Linked DNA regions of Homo sapiens: all the other regions are linked to region 7. The links are contacts of gene promoters, found by promoter capture Hi-C in blood cells and fetal thymus (Javierre and others, 2016). All regions are on one chromosome and are shown on one strand. The core of a region is centred on a gene start or on the middle of the fragment in contact, and the rest is flanking DNA. Distances in the headings are between cores, read along the strand shown.

Region 1 (2,902 bases), core at 9-2,508, 5.5 Mb before region 7:
GAGCCATTGTGCCCGGCCCTCACAATTTTAGAACATTTTCATCACCTCACAGAGAAACTCTATACCTTTTAGCTATCACACCTCGGGCTCTCCCATCTCCTCCCTTAGCCCCCCACCAAAGAATAATCTGCCTTCTCTCTCTATGGATTTGACTATTCTAGATATTTAATATAAATGAAATCATATAATCTGTGGTCCTTTGTGTCTGACTCCTTTTACTTAGATAATGATTTCAAGGTTAATCCATGTTGTAGCATATATTAGAGCTTCATTTGTTTTTATGGCCAAATGATATTCCATTGCATTGATATATCATATTTGCCCAGCTACTTGGGAGGCTGAGGCAGGTGAATCACTTGAAGCTGTGAGGTGGAGGTTGCAGTGAGCTGAGACCGTGCCATTGCACTTCAGCCTAGGCAACAAGAGCGAAACTCTGTCTCGAAATAAATAAATAAATAAAAATAAAAGAAGAAAGCTGCCATAAATGTATATGTTTTTGTATGGATATATATTTTCATTTATCTTGGGCATACACCAGGAGTGGAATTGCTGGGTCAAATGGTAACTTTTATGTTTAGCTATTTGAGGAACAACCAGACTGTTTTCCACAGTGGCTGTACCACTTTACATTCCCACCAGCAGTGTGTGAAGGTTCCAGTTTCACCATATCCTTGACAACACTTGTTACTATCGATCTTTCTGATTCTGGCCATCTAGGTGGGTGTGCAGTGATATCTCACTGTGGTTTGATTTGAATTTCCCTTATGACTAATGATGTTGAACATCTTGGCATATGCTTGTTGGCCATCTGTGTATCTTCTTTAGAGAAAAGTCTATGGGGACCCTTTGAATAAATAGTTTTTTTTTTTTTTTATAAGAGGGACTGGGGCCAGGTTTGAGGCTTGGTTTCCAGCTGTGTGACTTCTTGGTTTCTTAAACTATGAGCTTGTTTTCATGTCTTTTGAGTTGGGCAAATAACACCTATTTCATAAGGTCATTGTGTGGCTGAAATGAGAAAACATGCAGGTAGCATTTAGCAGAGTTCCTGATATGTAGTAACTATATAATAGATGAGAGCTGTTTTCATGATTTTTTTAAAAGGTAACAACACAATAAGAACTATGTTTTCTATGACCTGGCATTCATATGTAGGATTAAGAAAACAAGTTTTCAGGAAGATTAATATGGCCATGTTATATTAAATGGACAGGGACACCAGTTTGGAAATGACCCAAGAGTTTAAGCAAAAAAATAAAGGAAATGAGAAAAGAATGTTCTCTGCCCTTCTTTCCTATCAGAGACAAGGATTTCCTCCTGTCCTCAGCCTCAGCAGCCCTAGAAACGAGAGTGATCTTGCTGCTTTTTCAAGCTGATCAAGGATTTTTTAGTCATCTTTGTATATTAACTTACCCAATACCTGGGGAAATAGTGATGAATATGTTTTGGATTTTTTGATTAACACATCATAATAATGTGAGGAATTTTAAATGTGTTCATTAACTGTGTTTCTGTGGAGGAAGATGGCACATAAGGCTTTGGTAATCTCAGGGTCATTTATATTATCAATTAAAACAATTTTATACCATACCTGTGCATGCATTCATTTAGTACATACTTATGAAGCCCCTACTATGTGCCAGGCACTGTTTTAGGCTCTGAGAATACAATGGTGAACACAAGGTCTTTGCACTAAAGGAGTTTATATTCTAAAAAGGTGAAACATTCAAAGTCCATTCATTCAACAAATATTGAGTACCAACTGAATGCTGGACACTATTTTAGATGTGTGGGATGCATTGGTAAACAAAACAAGCCAAATTCCTTGTCCTCATAGGGCTTACATTTTAGTGGGAAGAGACAGACAATAAATCATAAACATAACAAATAAGGAAACTATATAATATGTTAGAGGGTTATAGCTGAGTGGGGGTAGGGAGTTGGAATTGCAATTTTTAGATAAGTGATCAGGGCTGGCCCCATTAAGACATGGAAGGAGGTGAGGGAGTGAGCTATGTGGCTATCTGAGGGAGAATGTACTAGGCAGATGGAACAGCCAGTGCAGAGCCCCTGAGGCAGGAGCATTCCTGGCAGAAATAAGGACTGCAAGGAGTGCAATTAGCAAAGGAAAAGGTAGGAGGAGATGAGGGTAGAGGGGGAGCGGAAAGGGAATAGATCAAAGATCCCATAGGTTGTTGCCCAGTGAAGAGGCCACCATTCACGTCTGCAACAATTAAGTGCTGAACATATTTCTTGCTAACCAGAGGACAGCAGTACTTGTAAGACAGTGTCTCTGAACAAAGGAATCTGTGAATCTTATACAGTGTTTTGGGAAGCATGGGGTTCGGAGGTTGGGGAACTCTTAGAAGCTGGACTGTTTAGAGATGAGTTGAACTTTAGATGTGGAAGAAGGATTACTAGAGTGTGGCTGTTGCTGATTGGCTAATTTTCAGAAGCAAGTCACTGATCAGGAGATTGTTATTGATTGATTAAAACAGATTCTGGTTGTTTCTTGTCACTATGACCAAAGAACAATCAGTATCTTTTTGTTGCTCAATTTGGAATGAAGGAACTTGCCACTCTGTCTTACAAGGCCACTGGAAAGTCTTTGTCTTTTACTTTGAGAGAAATGAGGAGTTAATAGGGGATTTTTGAGCAGTGGAGTGACAGGATTTGACTTATATTTTCAGAGGATCTGAAATCTTGGCTGCTGTGTACCAGAGTGGAAGAGGGGAGACAAGTCACTGCAGTCACCCTGATGAGAGATGTATTAGGTTGTTGTTGCATTCCTGTAAAGAAATACCTGAGACTATGTAATTTATACAAAAAGAGGTTTAATTGGCTCACGGTTCTCCAGGCTGTATAGGAACCATAAGGCTGGCATCTGCTTCTGGGGAGGCCTCAG
Region 2 (2,700 bases), core at 88-2,587, 5.7 Mb after region 7:
AGATGTTACTCACTGTTGGAAACTTTTTTTTTAATTAAAAATATGTTTTCTGTGCAAGCCCCACTACCTTATTTTAGCTATCCAAGAATAAATCCGCAGTAAGCTTGATCAAGTGGTATATACACTTAGTTTCTGCCTGTGCTGTCTCTGAAATCTGGAAAACCTTGAGGATAGAAAGATTAGAGCATTAGAAAACTGTAGGTGTATCATTTAAGAATCAGTTACTAGAATAACATAATTCACATCTCTTTTCCTGTAAGAGTTATTGTACCTGTCAACTTAAATTTGTTTTTTTTTTTTGGTATAGCTTTTTTCTTTTCTTTTTGAGGCTGATAGGGTGTAACAAAATGTAAATGATTGAAAAGTAGGTGCCGAGCCTATTAGTTCTTTACCGAGGGAGTAGGATAACTAGTTCAAAGGACAAAAGAAATTAGTGAATTTGTAGGATTCAGCCGAGGAATGTGCGGAAGAGAGTTGAGTCATCCAGTAGATAGGAAGGGAGTGCTCTTGCTTCTGCCTAGCTTTCTCCTGAAAGAATGAAGTCATGTGAAACTTGGTCAGTTATTAGAGGGAGAAATAGTTAACTTCTTTATCTGACAACCTGTGTTGACATTTAATTGTATTTTGCAGTGTTTTGTGAATTTTGAAATCCCGGTAAGCGATGATTTTGGCAGTAACAAGGGCATGTCCTTTACTTTCCCCATCACTTCCTTAGTTCAGCAGTAAAGACATCTGTGCATGATTTACTTTCAGGCTTTAGGAGATTTTTCTTTTATCAGACCTGGAGGAACTGATTACCTCATGTTTCAGATTGTGTTTCTGTCATAGTTCTGCAAGTGAAAATTAGTTTGCCTGTGGTTTGCTTTGAAGTTTACAAATAAAAGTGTTTACTGGTTTAAGGGTAGCTCAGCTGTAGTTATAGATTGGTTTTCAGAAATATGGGATGCTTTCTAGTAATCTTGGTTTAAAGTTAAACATCGAGATTATATGAAGATCATTTTTAATGTTGGTGCATACCTATCAACTGTTAAAGAAGCTTCTGTTGAAACTACAAAAGTGAAATTGATTGTGGTTATTGCAGAGATGTGATATTGAATCATCACTTCTGAATAAGTCAGTTGACAACTGAGTTTCTTAACGTCGGCGCTATTGGCATTTGTGACTGGATAATTCTGCGTTGTGGGAGGCTGCCCTGTGCCTTGTAAGATGTTAGCAGCATCCCTGGCATCTACCCCCACTAGATGCCAGTAGCATTCCCCTATATCCCTTCCCCCTTGTGACAACCAAAAATAGCTCCAGATTTTACCAAATGTCCCCTAGGGGCAAAATTGCCTCTGGTTGAGAATCACTGTGTTAAATGCATTAACTCTTTAGTAGGAAAGTTTGAAGTGTTTCTCACAGTTAAGTACTTAATTTTCTTTTATTCAGTGTATTTATATTGAGTTTCAGTAAATGCCAGGCTTCATGCTAAGGGGTAGGAAACAGTTGATTAAGCTGTGGGTCCTCCCTTTAGAACTCACAGGCTGTTTGGGAGGTGAACATTTAAAAGTAATGACAGTGCTATGTAATAGAATAATGAAGAGGACAGAGGACCCAGGAGGCACTCTGTGGGAGGTGAGGGCAATTAGGAAAAGCTTCAGGGACGGGGGCATATTCACAGCTCAGAAGAGGGAAGGGCATGTCAGGCAGAGGGAACAGCAAATGCAAAGAGATGGAGTCATAAAAGGCGCAGGTAGTACTGTGAGGAGTGTGAACAATGAAGCTTAGGAAGTGAGATGGTCTGTAGCAATTAGTAAGAGATGAAGCTACCGTGGTGGCTAGAGACCAAATTGTGAGAGGACGTAAGAGTCCCTTTGAAGGAGTTCAGCTTTTATCTTGTAGTTGGGTCAGTGTTAATGCTGAGTATTTAATAGGGACATTTTGATAAATGTCTTAAATCTGGTGATTTACTAGTTTAGAAGGTAGAATATATATTTTATTAACTCTACAAGTGGTATTTACCAACAAGTATAACTTGAATCTTTAAATTGTGTAACATGGCAACCTATTTTACCCCTCCCTGCTAATCTTATTTCTCAGCACAGATATTAAGCTATAAGATTAAAGCTATTGTTAATTTAGAGATTTATTTGAAATGGACTCTGTGCTTTGAAATTATGTGGCATTCCTTGGCTGGGTGCAGTGGCTCATTCCTGTAATCCCAGCACTTTGGGAGGCCGAGACGGGCGGATCACCTGAGGTCGGGAGTTCGAGACCAGCCTGACCAACATGGAGAAACCCTGACTCTACTAAAAATACAAAATTAGCCGGGAGTGGTGGTGCATGCCTATAATCCCAGCGACTCAGGAGGCTGAGGTAGGAGAATCACTTGAACCCGGGAGGTGGAGATTGCAGTGAGCTGAGATTGCTCCATTGCACTCCAGCCTGAGCAACAAGACCGGAACTCCGTCTAAAAAAAAAAAAAAAATTATGTGGCATTCCTTTAGCATTTTGTTTTTAGATGAACTTTTCATTTTAACTATTCTTATTTTCTTCTGAATAGTTTCCTTTAAATAGCATTTTTTAAAAGAAGAAACAGACAAACTGCTTACCATCAATTAGAACTCAAAGTGTTTGAACATCATCAATAAGTCTCAGGATACTTTACGGAAATTTGGTTTCTGGTTCTCCTGCTTTTGTCCCTCCTCCTGCTCCTCCTTT
Region 3 (3,034 bases), core at 456-2,955, 6.6 Mb before region 7:
GTCCTTATTCTTTCCTCTGCACAAAATGACAACGGCCATTGAAATAAGATGTGAAATCATGTTTTAGAGAGCTATGATTAGGAGTATGAATTAAGATTTGTTGTTCTGAAAGTTTAGTAAGATATCTGCAGTGGAGGCAAGTCTTGGATAAAAACTGAGGGGTAGCTGAAAGACCACCTACAGCTATTTCACCATTAGCCATAGCGTTTTTGTAGCATAGCATAGAAATGTTGTGAAATCTGAATCTGTTATCACATTCAAATGCAGTCTTGGTGAACTGGAAATACGCTGTGTCATTTTAGAAAACCAAAAGCACAAATAACTTGTTCTTGAATTTGAAGATGACACAAATGATATTTAAGTCTTTCAAATTCAAATTTTTGGTTTTTTACATTCTTATAATGTACTTAAGAACGTATCTGATGGCCGGCACGCTGGCTCACGCCTGTAATCCCAGCACTTTTGGAGGCCGAGGCAGGTGAATCACGTGAGCTTAGGAGTTCAAGACCAGCATGGGCAACACAGTGAGAACCCTGTCTCTACAAAAATATATATATATATACAAAAATTAGCCAGGTGTAGTGACAGGTGCCTGTAATCCTAGCTACTCAGGAGGCTGAGACATGAGAATCACTTGAACCTGGGAGGCGGAGGTTGCAGTGAGCTGAAATCATGCCATTGCACTCCAGCCTGGGCTACAGAGTGAGACCCTGTCTCAAAAAAGAAAAAAAAGAAAAAACCTTCTTTGGTCTTCTAGTTATGGTTGCTGGGAGTCAGTTTTGTCAAGTTATGCGCCACTGTCAGCAGCCAGGACTGACTTCCTTTAGGCTATGAAACATCATCACTGCCTTTCCGTAATACACATGAAGTATGAATTGCATGAGACCCAACATGAGATCTTATATCCTGCAAATAAAATTTCTTTTCTAAGAGGACTTTATCAGTGGGCCAAAGTAATGAATTTTCTATTGTCTAGTGAACTCACTCTTTTCAGAGAAAAGGTACAATGTAGTCACCTAGAGTTTCAGCATTAGAAGGATGTTCATCTGGTACCACCATCATTTCATTTTATAGATGAAGAAAAGCCTTTCTAGTCTAATGAAGTAGTTCCAAACAAACTGACAAGATGTAGACAAATGGAAGACGCAGAGCTTTGGCAATATTGGGCTTATAAAAGTGGTATTGAGAAATTTTGGTAGAAAGTCCTCCACAGAAAGCAGGCAAAACTAGCACATCTGACCCTGGTATGCAGATCAACAGCAGCAGGAAGTAAATGAGATCCTGAGTGGAAAATGCTGTCTTCCAGATTCTCTTTTGCAGCAGATGTTTATAGTTCGGTTTTTGGGATCAATGGCAGTTAAAACAGACAGCACTACTGAAGTGATTTATGAAGCGATGAGACAAGTATTGGCTGCTCGGGCTATTCATAACATCTTCCGCATGACAGAATCCCATCTGATGGTCACCAGTCAATCTTTGAGGTACGTTCAGTTTTATTTTCAGACTTTCTTATGGCTTCAGCTAATTCCCCTTTTAAGGCTAATGCACCCATCTGAAATGTTAGTACTGGAATGAAGAGACTACTCTTGCTTTTGCCCCCACTACTTTTTACATAAGATAGATAGCCTAGAAAGTGCTCCCTTAGAGACAAGAACTGGTATCTTCAAAAATCCAGTGGTGAGTGAATACTGTTGTTCACAAAGATGCCATCACACTAGACTTATTCTCTATATTATAGCTCAGAGCTTGAAAATGGAAGTTTTTTGGTTTTGCTTTTTTTTTTTCATTTCTGAGAGTACTATTTATAAAAAATAATGGAAAAAAACTTAAAAATCTGCCTAAATAACTTGGCCATCACAGAGAGAGCAGGCCATATTAACTACATGATTTAGTGTTTCAGGTAATACGATCTGGGTTTCAGATATGACCAAAATCCTGGTTATGAACATGGGTGTATGATACTGTAGCCACAGGTAGCATCTGCAGCAAAACTAGCCTGAACTGAGATGTGTTTTCAGTGTTAAATACATACCAAATTTCTAAGATTTAGGATGTAAAACATCTCACTAATTTTTTAGGTTAATCACATGTCTGGTAATATTTTAGATATACTGGATTAAGTAAAATTAATTTTATCTGTTACTTTTCACTTAATGTGGCCGCTGGAAAAACTTCGATGACATATAAGGCTTCCATTACATTTCTAAGGGACAGCACTGCTTTAGAGCCAGAATGTCTCAGTTTATTCCTGGCTTCGGCATTTCTTAGTTATGTGACCTTAAGCAAATTTTTGAGCCTCTGTACCTCAGTTTTTTCAGCTGTAAAATGAAAGTAACTATTCACACCCTCCACTGTTGTCATGAGGAATAAATGTCATGAGGAATAAATGTGCTAATATATGTAAGACATTTACAACTCACTGGCACATGAAAAGTGCTCAATGAACGTTAGCTTCAAAAAAGGTAACTAGGACTATAGCAAAAATTAGGATATAGCTTCTTCCATTCATTAAGCCCATCCTTTTCATTTATTATGAACCTTATCTGAGAATTAAGTTCTTATTAATAAAACCTGTTCTTTCACTATGTCCTGGACCTTTTACAGAAATGGGCTCATGGTTCTTATAATCCTATTGGTCCTGGAATAATTTCCACCAAAAAGATCAAAGGAAAATATATGTAAAAGTACTGTGAAAAACCACAGCACATCAAAGTGAAAAGAAAAACTACAGAATGGGAAAAAAGTATTCACAAATTCTATCTAATATGGATGTAGTACACAAAATATACAAAGAACTCTTATAAAACTCAACAGAAAGACAACCCAATTAAAAAATGGACCAAGGACTTGAAATAGACATTTTTCCAAAGATCATATACAAATGGCCAATGAGGACATGAAAAGATGCTATGTGTTACTAGGGAAATGCAAAACAAATCCACAATGAGATATGTCACTCCATATTAAGATGGCGTGCGCACGCATGCACACTGTCTCACAGATGTTTATATATATATGATATATATGATATATA
Region 4 (2,777 bases), core at 63-2,562, 6.5 Mb before region 7:
CCCATGTACAGGAGAGAACAGAAAAGTCATAAGCAAGGACCACAGAAAGAGACCTAGGCTAGACTATGGAACTCTCCCTGATGAGCAACTGTGTCAATAACACTATGAAGAAGGCAATAATACACAGTGAACAGCATTCAGCCAGCTTTAGGTAAGGCTATAGGATAATGCAGAGGCTTTTATGTCACTTCTGCCCATCACTCTGTGATCACATCCAGATGACTGATGATCTTTACCTCTTATAAATATATAAAAACAGGCCGGGCGCGGTGGCTCACGCCTGTAATCCCAGCACTTTGGGAGGCCGAGGCGGGTGGATCATGAGGTCAGGAGATCGAGACCATCCTGGCTAACAAGGTGAAACCCCGTCTCTACTAAAAATACAAAAAATTAGCCGGGCGCGGTGGCGGGCGCCTGTAGTCCCAGCTACTCGGGAGGCTGAGGCAGGAGAATGGCGTGAACCCGGGAAGCGGAGCTTGCAGTGAGCCGAGATTGCGCCACTGCAGTCCGCAGTCCAACCTGGGAGACAGAGCGAGACTCCGTCTCAAAAAAAAAAAAAAATAAATAAATAAATAAATATATAAAAACAAAACTGCTTCAAGTTTTAAAAAGCAAGTTAACTGACAAAGAGTACAAAAATCGTGAAGTGTCCTATTGGATTGTCAGTTGCATTTCAAAGTACAAACAGGAAAAATACCAAGGTAAAAAAACAAATCTCCTGCCCCAACATAAAGCACTAAACAGTGTCAACGCCTATATGTCAACATGGGGGGTTGAAACAAAGATTCAGACCTCTGTCCTCTAAAGGCAGTATTTTCCAGTGTTAAAGTGGTTGTGAATCAAAAGCAAAATGCAAAAATCCACAAACCTTGGACCCCAGTCAAGGAGGCAGCTGGGACACTGGCCACTTGGGGTCTGGTGTATAGTATGGGGGCAGGAATACTGTTGCTCATTGCTCTCCATTGCTCCCTACTCACTTACATAAACTCTGAAGCCTGACCTTGGGACACCTCTTAGACAACCCCTCAACTTTCTCTAAAATGTCAGGACAAAGCCCTGCTGATCACATCATCCCTCTGAGTTTCACTTTAGTGGAGTGAATTTTAGGTTTCCTTGACATAACTGCTAAGAGACTGAAAAAAATAACTGTGCCCTTCATCTTCATGGAGCTCTGTAGTAAAGAATTTAGAAACAAAATCTCATCATGTGATAAGTCTTTGAAAGTCAACTTATTCAACTGTCCACTTAGTAAGACTCACTTCCCACAGATCTTGGACTGACAGTTATCTATATTCTGCCTACACAGCTTTAGTGAAGGAGACTACAGAGCAGCCTACACAATGCTACCTGCTGCAGAGGCACCAGAATAGGATTGGCACTGGTTTGAATGCCCTCTCTGACATGTACTTAGCTGTGTGACCTGGCAAAGTTCATTTCTCTAAGACTCATTTTATCTAAAAATGGGATAAAAATGGTTTATAGTAGTAGTTAACAGCCTGGGCTGTAGAGTTGAACTGCCTGCATCTGCCACCTACTAGTTGTTTAAACTTGGGCAAGTTTAATCTCTGTAGGGTTTTCTCATCTACAAAATGGCAACAAAAGTATCTACCTCATACAATTTTCTGATCATTACAGGAGGTATGTGTCAAGTTCCTGGAATACCTACTAGCATATAGTAAGCACTCCATAAACATTAATTGTTACATTTATTATTTTCTGCCGGAAGGCTGTTACATGCTTTATGGAACATGGTATGTTTAAAGCTATTAGCATAATGCCTGCCATAGAGTTGAGAGCTTCATGATGTTGGCAATTATTATCATTACTATCTGTCATCTTCACCTTTTGGTTTTAGTTTAGCCTACTGGAGCCACAGAGATCAAATCTGTTCCCTCTTCATTCTGAATGTCCCTCAAATATTTAAAGAAACCCACCACATCATTCCACAGATTTCTCTTTTAAAGGCCAAACTATACAGACACTAACAAAGAGAAGACAAACAAGAAGGCATGGTTCTCAGACCTTCTGACATCCTGATCAGCTGCATCTAGGGATGCTGCAGTTTGTGACCCTCTCAAAACATGGCACCACCAAACACCAGCTATGATCTGACCAATAAAAATTCCATGGAATATACCTGGGTTATGAAGTAATCTGCACAACAAACCCCCATGACACATGGTTACCTATGTAACAAACCTGCACTTGTATCCTGAACTTAAAAGTTTAAAAATAAAAAATAAAAACAATTTTAAAAAGAGGCCTGGTGTGATGGCTCACGCCTATAATCCCAGCACTTTGGAAGGCCGAGGTGGCGGATCACCTGAGGTCAGGAGTTCAAGACCAGCCTGCCCAACATAATGAAACCTCGTCTCTACTAAAAATACAAAAATTAGCCAGGCGTTGGCGCGGTGGCTCACGCCTGTAATCCCAGCAGTTTGGGAGGCTGAAGCAGGCAGATCACAAGGTCAGGAGTTCGAGACCAGCCTGACTGACGTGGTGAAACCCAGTCTCTACTAAAAATACAAAAATTAGCCGGGCGTGGTGGTGGGTGCCTGTAATCCCAGCTACTCGGGAGGCTGAGGAAGGAAAATCACATGAACCCAGGAGGCGGAGGTTGCAGTGAGCCGAGATCACACCACTGCACTCCAGCCTGGGCGACACAGGGAGACTCTGTCTCAAAAAAAAAAAAAAAAAATGTAGCTGGGCATGGTGGTAGGCACCTGTAGTCCCAGCTACTTGGGAGCTGAAGTAGGAGAACTGCTTGAATCTGGGAG
Region 5 (2,754 bases), core at 21-2,520, 6.6 Mb before region 7:
CCCTCAAGTCCAGGCAAAAATCCAATTTTAAAATCTCATTCTTAACCTTTGAAAGTAGAGCCTTTGGAAACAGAATGAACTTCACTTTAAAGCACTGCCTTTAAGAACTGTAACATCTATTTTCCAGAGATGTGACCCAGGAAACAATTCATCAATAGTTTATCCATTCCACTGGCAAAAGTTTTAACAATTCTGATGATTTCATCATATGTGCAGTGAATACCATCCGTATCATTTCACAACAGGATCAGCAGACACAGTGCTGTCAGACAGGTCTCCATTGCTTGTTTTAGTTTCTTCTGAAAGCATGAGTGAAAATAATAATGGATATTTATGTTCATTTTTAAACAATAAATTAAGAAGTAAAAGAAATTTGAGAAGAGCTGTATTGCCAAACTTCAAATTACAGTTGCATCCATCAAATGTTTCTCTAACATCACAAATTATACCTTGTTTACACTTTAAAATTTTTAAAAATCTAGGCTAAACACTGCAATTGTTTCCACTGGTTTTTAATGAAGGTGGAGTTGAGGGAGCTCAGAACCTGTATTGGGGTGGGGCTTCAAACCACATGGGCTCCTTTGTCCTGAGGAATCTTGATATTCCTGGTCTAAGAAAGGCCCGCTCCCCTCACGCCAGTTCCTCCAGCTGGGCCAAGAAAGAACCATTACAGTACATTGTCATTCCTGGTAGGAACATGGCTGCAAACTCACATATCAAAACTGTCCAGAATGAATAACTTTCCATTTGTATTTATAACTTATTATAATAAATTATACGTAATATATATTATTTCTTAAAATAATTTTAAATGAAACAGCTTTTCACTGTTTTTGACAGAATGAATTCCTGGCTTTTTGTGCAAAATGTCATGTGTGCATATTTCATTAACAGACAAAGACTATTTGAGTAATGTATTCAGAAACTGACTATATCTCTGAGCAATCTTTAGCTGAAATAGTCTTAGAACAGTGATGTGAGTGATAACATAACAACTGCAACTCTGGAGAGTTCCTTAAGAGGAATAGGCCAAAGCAAGGAATCCCACTGCCATGAGACTGAAGGGTTGTTTGTTTTGTTTTAATGCTTTAGCCTGAAAGCAAATGTCCAATCGCCCCGCAGAGTTTTCCCAGTCACCTGGGCTGGGGAAAAGGTTCTGGCATCATGAAACACATGAGCAGAACTGAGGCAATAACTGAGTTTCTTCATAATTTAGATTATATTGATTCAAATTCTTCCAAATGGCTTTGCTAATTTATCCTTGAAAATGAACACAAATGTAGTATGTATAAATTTTCATTTAATATTGAGTGTCTTCCAGATTAATAAGCTGAAACAATTTTTTCAAGCATGTTTATTTAGTCTAGATTCAAAAAACGCCTGGATATGCACCTAATTAATAAGTAATATTAGTAATATTTAATTTATGCAACAATGTCAAGAAATAAGGTAGTTCACGTAAGTGGTCTACCCAATGAGTCACCTCTACTCTATATAAAGAAAAAAGGTGTATTTTAAAAATTAACATAAAATAAGATTAATAAAAACATCTTGTTTTATGAAGAGCTTTATATCTTGATTTATGAAAACTTCATGAAGCACGAGTAAGACAAAAAGGAGACTAGTAAACATGAAAATTATAAGGGTTAACTAGTCGCTGTATCTAGTTTTGATCTTCCAAGCAATGAGAAATGTATGCTATATAATATCCATGACAGAAAAAGGGAAACATCTGTTTCTCAGAGAAGATGATTATTCCTAAATTTCAAATCTGAGAGAAATATATCATGGGGACATTAAATATGAAACACTGAACAATGCTCTTACGCCTTAAAAAGTATAGATTCCTTTCCACCATCCTACATAGAATACAATGGACAGAATCCTTTCCTTAATGACTGAAGTTCATTGAAATCACTATCAGTTATTATGGCTATATTGCCTGAGTCTCCAGGGCCTGACTATGAAAGAAGGCAGGATGCTATTTACTACAACTAAATAGCCCCTATGATTTTACAGTTCTTTAATCATCTGTCCCATCTCATTCAGTCAACATCTAGTCATCAGCAGCTCTGCCTTCAGCAACATTTAGCTGTCCTCCTCTATTTGTTCCTTCAAATCTAATAGTTTGAGCCATGAAAGAAAAACCAAACTTGTGAAAAGTGTATTTAAATTAAAAGCAGATGATCCTGAACAAGGTTTTAAAGGGTTACCAAGTGTGAAATGCATAAACTACATAAATTCCTTTTCAATTTCACACAAGATCTATACAGGCTTTACTTTTTTTAAAAGACTTAATGCTAGGTCTGTGTTATTTTCCAAAAGGACAAAGAAGCTAGATGTCTGACCAGATAAAATGGTGCATTACTGTCTATTACTAAAGACATTTATTGGTCTTTCCAAATTTAAACCACTCACTGACCTTCCTTCTCTTTCTTTTCTTGGTTTTCTTCAGCCGCAGTCTTGTCTGCTCTGAAGAAAATTCTTGCACTGCTCAGTGAGAAATACAGCAATTCAAATTCCTAAGTAAATTTAAAAATTTGAAATAAAAACCAAAAATACTTATTATGGCAAAATACCAAAAATATATGCATTTTTATGCCTCTTATTATTATTTTTAAAAGCTCTAGTGGAAATCATAAATACAGAAACTGAAATAAGTAACCCGCCCATTTTTAAGATGTGAGTCAAATGGCTTCCAAATAGCACTCATTTTAAAATATAATCTTTTTGCCACTATTCATCTCACTTGTG
Region 6 (2,918 bases), core at 244-2,743, 6.6 Mb before region 7:
AGCACTGTTTGTAAGAATGAAAAATTAGAAAAACCTAAATAATGGTCAACAGAAGAAGGTTAAATAAGTTATGATATACATGGATGTATCCCTATCAACTTGAAGCAGATCTGTATGTACTGACGTGATGAGCACAGTGCAAAATGCTATGTATAATATTACTCCATTTTTACTATACTGCTTTTAAAAGCAATATATGTGTGTAAATATACATGTTTATATACAAAGATATCTGAAAGCCATCACACTACATTGTTAGCAACTGCCTCCAGAAAATGGAATGGAAAGAGAAATGAAGGTGGATATTCAGTTTATCCATTCTATATTGCTTAAATGTTTCAAAATAAGCATGTCCTGCTTTTATATTATTTTAAAATAAAGAAAAAGTATCACCTGGCTACATTTATGATTTAATTTTTTCCTTACCTTAAGCCTACAGATAATGCAGAGTAAGAAATTATAGGGAAAATAAAACTAAAACCCCAATAGAGATCTAAATAATGAATTTTAGCATACACATTTGCCATATACTCAATAGCTTAATCAAATACCTTAAAAAGAATAGGTAGCCTACCTTATGATCATTTTGGTCCTTAATTTCCCTGAAAAATCGAATATCTTTAATCAATCTGGATTTGATGTGTTCATCATACATAAATTGGCTAAATATATAGAACTTCTTTTTCAAAAACTGGTAGGTGAAATTAACCTATAAAATTAAAATTCAAAAAGTTGAAAAAAGTTAATATAAAAATTAATTCAAATCAATTCAAATAAATTTTACTGTATCACAGTTATCTATTTGTACTACCTATAAAGTACTATTTAAAAAGTCTATTTCATATTGGACCTGAAAATATTTAAATAACATTTTTTATTGCTGAAGTTCACAAAACTTTCTATAAGCTCCTCTTACATATTTTTACTAAAAAAGAAAAAAGAAAAGAAAAAAGTGGAAAATATTCTCATGATAGGACTAAGGGCTGTAGTGAGAATCACAAAACCAGACTCAAGACTCTAGTTTTTAAGCCATGGTCCAGTGAGAAGTTTCTATGTTCCTCCATCAGTAAGATTACTTATTGCTAATCTACAGGTCTAGAATGATACTAAAGTAAGAAACATGGTGTTCTCTGAACCTTCCTGAAGATACCACATATTCAATTATCTATCCATAAATATTTCTAATCACCTCTTACACACAAGGCAACGTGCCTTCTCCCATGCTAGACATGGTCCTTGTCTTCACGAAGTTTATATTCTAGAACAGGTGACAAACATTTTAAACAAGTATTGTTAAATAAATTATTAAATCTCTACTGTAATAATTTCTCAGAATGTTAAGTACATGTGTGCTTTGACAATAAATAACAAAAAGCCCTTGACTCAGAAAATCCTAAGAAAGTGAGGTATGAGCTGAGATTAAAGTCAAAATAGCACAGTAAAATTAATTCTAACCTACAGATGGAAATAGCAAAAGATTAATTCCAACCTACAGGCAGAAATAGCATAAGATTAATTCCAACCTACAAATGAAAACCCTAAATTCATTTCCAACCCCACTAACTCTCAAGTATTACTAATGATTTTGACAAATTTGTGCCCGTTTTACTCAGTATTCATTTACCCAATTATGGAAACAAATGATTTTCGGGAACTTATCTTGTAGCTTAAACATTGTACTCTCTCCTTGTTTTTTCTGTTTCTTTGCATTTTTAAAAAAATCTCTTTAACAGTCTTTTGTTTTTAATCCTTTCCACTCTTAATAGTGGGTAACTATTCTGCCATCCTGATTTCTATCCTTCTATGCTCATTTCATCAACAGACATCAGTAATCTACATTCATTAGTGTAATTAACTGATGAACATCTATATCCCTGTGATTACTGTGAAAGCAGGAAATGTGTTTTTCTCACACTAGTGCCCAGCACAGTCCCTGACACATAAAATACATTCACATCTGTTACATGAATATTTGATAGATGATAGAAGTCAAGGAAGAGTTTACTCTCAAAAGTTCAGTTTTATTTATCCTCAAAGGTACAAACATGATCATTACATGGATGACTCTTCATTTGGAATTTAAAATTGTATGTTTCATTTCTATATTGATAACCCCACTATAATGGAGCTCCAATCATATCACTCATTGGCTCAAAATCTTCAATGCTTTTCCACTGTATACTTAAATGATCCCAACTTAACTTTCCATTTTCTCCCAATTCCCTACTCCAAATGTGTTTAATAATACTGTACTACTTAAGCATTCAGTCTTCTCCCCTAAAGGAGAAATTAACTGTGCTCTGAAAACCAGGTAAATTCAAAGACTTCTCTTTTTCCACAGACAGAAAAATAGCATACGAGTTCAAATAATTCCTTCAAGTGAATGCCCATTTCGTTTTTGTTTGTTTTTTTTTTTTTGAGATGGAGTTTCGCTCTTGCTGCCCAAGCTGGAGTGCAATGGCGCAATCTCAGCTCACTGCAACCTCTGCCTCCCAGGTTCAAGCGATTCTCCTGCCTCAGCCTCCCAAGCAGCTGGGATTACAGGCGCCCGCCACCACGCCTGGCTAATTTTGTATTTTTAGTAGAGATGGGGTTTCTCCATGTTGGTCAGGCTGGTCTTGAACTCCCAACCTCAGGTGATCCTCCTGCTTCAGCCTCCCAAAGTGCTGGGATTACAAGCGTGAGCCACCACGCCAAGCGGTGAATGCCCATTTCTAAGAAGATTCAATATATTTTTAGTAAGTTCCTATTTATATGGACATCAAATAATTAGCAAACCCTGCCCCAAAAAGGGCATAAATAACATTAAGTAAATTACTATCTATTGTTGACTTTCAAAAGTAAACTTTCAGGGATCACAGATCAACACAGATAAACATATATATATGTGTGCACACACATATATTAATGTGCTGATG
Region 7 (2,915 bases), core at 18-2,517:
AGCTTTAACTTTTAAACTGAACGACAGATAGTGTAAATAAGGACTCTATCCATACTAAAGACAACAGAAGCACATGAATGATTTAAAGAAAAAAATCTTTCGATTTTACAGGCACAAGGTAGATAACATTCTTAGGACTCCTACAATTCGGTTTTCAGGTTTCTCTGTATGTACATACTTCACTAGGATTTAAAACACACACAACTAAGTTAAAGCTGGGCCCAACCACCAAGAATCCCAAGAGATAATCACACCAAAGGGACGCCCACCAATTATCTCCTTTCTATTGCCTATGTAGGGCTGCAAGCTGCCTCCTCCAGTCGCACGAAAACAGGACATCTAGTTATCTCATATACAATTAAGTGCAAAAATGACTGACCTGGCGTCGACAAATATAAAACTTAGGAAAGGACTATTTTTAAGAAAACTAAGGGCAAATCAAAGGACAGGTAATATAGTTAGTAGAACTGTGGGTGGTCAGTAGTTTCGGGAGGAGAGTTTACCCAGTACTTAGTTTGCTGACCAAGCGAGCTCACGGCGGAGAAAGAGCTAGTCACGGCCTCTCTTCCCTCGGGCACACGGAGGTCACGAAGGGACACAGGGCCTCAGCGCTTCCACGCCCTTGAGGGAAGGCCAAGGATCTGACACCCGCCTATGGTGGAAAAGGCCGATACCCCAGGGCAAGCAACTGGGCGCCGTCCTACGGTGCAGCGGGCTGGACTCGTCCTTCCCTGTCCTCCAAGCCGGGTCCAGGCCTCAAAGGCTGGGCGGCCCACAAGTAGACCACACGACTGTATTGGGCAGGGTCTGATCTCACCTTCCACGGCGGCGGCTGCCAGGTTGCGAGGGCGGCGGGGCTGGCCCGTGGGCCCTGGGGAGCTGCTGCGGAGGTCCCCGAGACCATCGTGCACCAGCTGCAGATGTGGCGTGTTGAAGGGGTTCGCCCGCGCCAGGTGCGCCACGGACGAGAACATCTTTCTAGGGGAGGAGGGAGCGACGGTTAGAGGACAGGCAAGGCGCCGGTTAACGTTACCGGCGCCCTGGAACCCCAACCGGGGCCTTTTCCTTCCCGTCTCCACGCCCTTGAAGAGGTCACGGCGGCCTTCGAAAGAGGCTGCTCCCGGCTGGGCCCACCGCCAAAGCAGCGGCCCCACAGGAGCTCTGGGCTCCGCTCCCCACACCCGCCACAGGAGAAGGCCCGGCCACACTCACTCCCTAAGATGGCGATCACACAACCACTCCCTTGGAAAGGTTGCGGCTCACAGAGGCCGGACGTCCTCCGGGTCCTAAGATGTGTGCCCTTCGCGCGTCGTCGGCGTGACGCACACAGCGCGCCACTGCAAGTACGCGTCGCCCATTGGTGGAGAAGAGCGCCGAGCCCGTAGCGTCATCGCGTTCTCCTAGCAACCTTATTCCCGCCCCTGCCCGCCCCAGCTCTTCCGCCCGGCTTGTGCGCGGGAGGATTCGTTCTGCGCAGGCGCGCGTTCCGGGTCTATATTTTTTGAGAGGGGTCGGGCTCGAGCTCTTACCCTGCTCGCTTTGTCCCTTCACCTTCAGGTGTCTCTCCTTGACCACGGGCTTCAGTTCGCTTCACTTAAGTGAATCACAGTATCTAGTAGTCACTTAAAAAACAAAACAAAACGCGAATGCTTGATAATATATTTAGGTGTTGGAGTTACAACATCACTGCAGTACTTTGTGTCACAACTTCTGCCATTACAGTACTTTTTAAAATAAGTTCCATCCATTGACATTAAACATAGGTATGTCTGTATTTTTCATCAGACTCCTGGAGAATATTTTAAAAAGAAATGTGCAGCAAGAAGTCTTACGACAGCTTGCCGCGTTATCACAGTAATCTACAGAACACGTTGAAACATTGAACTCCTGAGATGTTACAGCGATGAACTACTGAAAGTGACTGATAGCAGATTGTGCGTGTGTGTGGTTAATACATTTAGGAAGCTTTCATTAGATTCAGCTCAACAGGGAGGGGCGTAGTTTAGTTGGGGAGAGTTTAATAGGGATTCAACCTGTTAGACTTCTGACTCTTATATTTTCCAAGCTCTTGACAAAGTAACCTTGGGAATTTACTTCATCTCTGTGTACCTGTTCCCTAGATGTAAGATAGGGGTGGGACTGGCCTCATAGGTTCACACTGGTACAGTCACACATGGCCTTACACTTCATTTAATGCTCTGCTGTCATTTTGATTTTTTTTTTTTTTCTTTTGAGATGGAGTCTTGCTCTGTCGCCCAGGCTGGAGTGCAGTGGGGCGATCTCAGCTCACCGCAACCTCCGCCTCCCGGGTTCAAGCGATTCTCCTGTCTCAGCCCCCGGAGTAGCTGGGACTACAGGCGTGCACAACCACGCCCGGCTAAGTTTTCTATTTTTAGTAGAGACAGAGTTTCGTCACGTTGGCCAGTCTGGTCTCGAACTCCTGAGCTCAGGTGATCCGCCCACCTCGGCCTCCCAATGTGCTGGGATTACAGGCCTGAGCCACCATGCCCGGCTTGAAATTCTTAATACATGTATGAACAAGGGGCCACGCTTTTTTTAGTTTGCACTGGACCCTGCAAATCAGGTGTCTGGTTCTGGATGGGAGTAATACTTACCTTGCAGAGTCTATGAGAACTCAATGAGATAATGTCTAAAAGTCTACAGAAGATGTTACCTAAAAAAAGTTAGCATTGGCCGGGCGAGGTGGCTCACGCCTGTAATCCCAGCACTTTGGGAGGCCGAGGCGGGCAGATCACGGGGTCAGGAGATCGAGACCATCCTGGCTAACACGGTGAAACCCCGTCTCTACTAAAAATACAAAAAATTAGCCGGGCGAGGTGGCGGGCGCCTGTAGTCCCAGCTACTGAGGAGACTGAGGCAGGAGAATGGCGTGAACCCAGGAGGCAGAGCTTGCA

The links. The method cuts DNA at HindIII sites, captures the fragments that hold promoters and counts their contacts. A CHiCAGO score of 5 or more calls a contact.
Region 1: a contact is called between a fragment that was not itself captured here and the fragment with the promoter of SLC25A3 in region 7, in 1 of 17 cell types (neutrophils). The highest score is 5.7, in neutrophils.
Region 2: a fragment that was not itself captured here is called in contact with the fragment with the promoter of SLC25A3 in region 7 in 1 of 17 cell types (total CD4 T cells); the score reaches 6.5 in total CD4 T cells.
Region 3: a contact is called between a fragment that was not itself captured here and the fragment with the promoter of SLC25A3 in region 7, in 1 of 17 cell types (neutrophils). The highest score is 6.7, in neutrophils.
Region 4: a fragment that was not itself captured here is called in contact with the fragment with the promoter of SLC25A3 in region 7 in 1 of 17 cell types (neutrophils); the score reaches 13.7 in neutrophils.
Region 5: a fragment that was not itself captured here is called in contact with the fragment with the promoter of SLC25A3 in region 7 in 1 of 17 cell types (neutrophils); the score reaches 9.9 in neutrophils.
Region 6: a contact is called between a fragment that was not itself captured here and the fragment with the promoter of SLC25A3 in region 7, in 1 of 17 cell types (neutrophils). The highest score is 6.1, in neutrophils.

The regions. Positions count from the first base shown.
Region 1 is chr12:104,141,933-104,144,834 of GRCh38, reverse strand. All of the region lies in intron 1 of LOC105369947 (a long non-coding RNA gene), which reads right to left. Among named protein-coding and RNA genes, the nearest start is that of NFYB, 5.2 kb to the right of the region's middle. The HindIII fragment of the contact is 3,300 bases long and covers 1-2,902 here.
Region 2 is chr12:92,925,763-92,928,462 of GRCh38, reverse strand. All of the region lies in intron 1 of EEA1 (early endosome antigen 1), which reads left to right. Among named protein-coding and RNA genes, the nearest start is that of EEA1, 2.2 kb to the left of the region's middle. RefSeq lists an enhancer at 879-1,008. The HindIII fragment of the contact is 598 bases long and covers 1,039-1,636 here.
Region 3 is chr12:105,186,720-105,189,753 of GRCh38, reverse strand. APPL2 (adaptor protein, phosphotyrosine interacting with PH domain and leucine zipper 2) reads left to right here. Exons shown (of 21, transcript NM_018171.5): 17 at 1,307-1,481. Among named protein-coding and RNA genes, the nearest start is that of APPL2, 48 kb to the left of the region's middle. The HindIII fragment of the contact is 6,846 bases long and covers 1-3,034 here.
Region 4 is chr12:105,128,867-105,131,643 of GRCh38, reverse strand. All of the region lies in intron 13 of WASHC4 (WASH complex subunit 4), which reads right to left. Among named protein-coding and RNA genes, the nearest start is that of WASHC4, 23 kb to the right of the region's middle. The HindIII fragment of the contact is 4,632 bases long and covers 1-2,777 here.
Region 5 is chr12:105,164,409-105,167,162 of GRCh38, reverse strand. WASHC4 (WASH complex subunit 4) reads right to left here. Exons shown (of 33, transcript NM_015275.3): 32 at 2,423-2,522; 33 at 1-299. The coding sequence ends at 232. Among named protein-coding and RNA genes, the nearest start is that of WASHC4, 58 kb to the right of the region's middle. The HindIII fragment of the contact is 3,528 bases long and covers 1-2,754 here.
Region 6 is chr12:105,147,406-105,150,323 of GRCh38, reverse strand. It overlaps WASHC4 (WASH complex subunit 4), which reads right to left. Exons shown (of 33, transcript NM_015275.3): 25 at 575-709. Among named protein-coding and RNA genes, the nearest start is that of WASHC4, 41 kb to the right of the region's middle. The HindIII fragment of the contact is 9,694 bases long and covers 1-2,918 here.
Region 7 is chr12:98,592,038-98,594,952 of GRCh38, reverse strand. It overlaps SLC25A3 (solute carrier family 25 member 3), which reads right to left and starts at 1,267. Exons shown (of 8, transcript NM_002635.4): 1 at 1,213-1,267; 2 at 818-978. The coding sequence starts at 974. RefSeq lists enhancers at 228-852, 1,176-1,275, 853-1,477, 1,526-1,745. The HindIII fragment of the contact is 3,126 bases long and covers 1-1,967 here.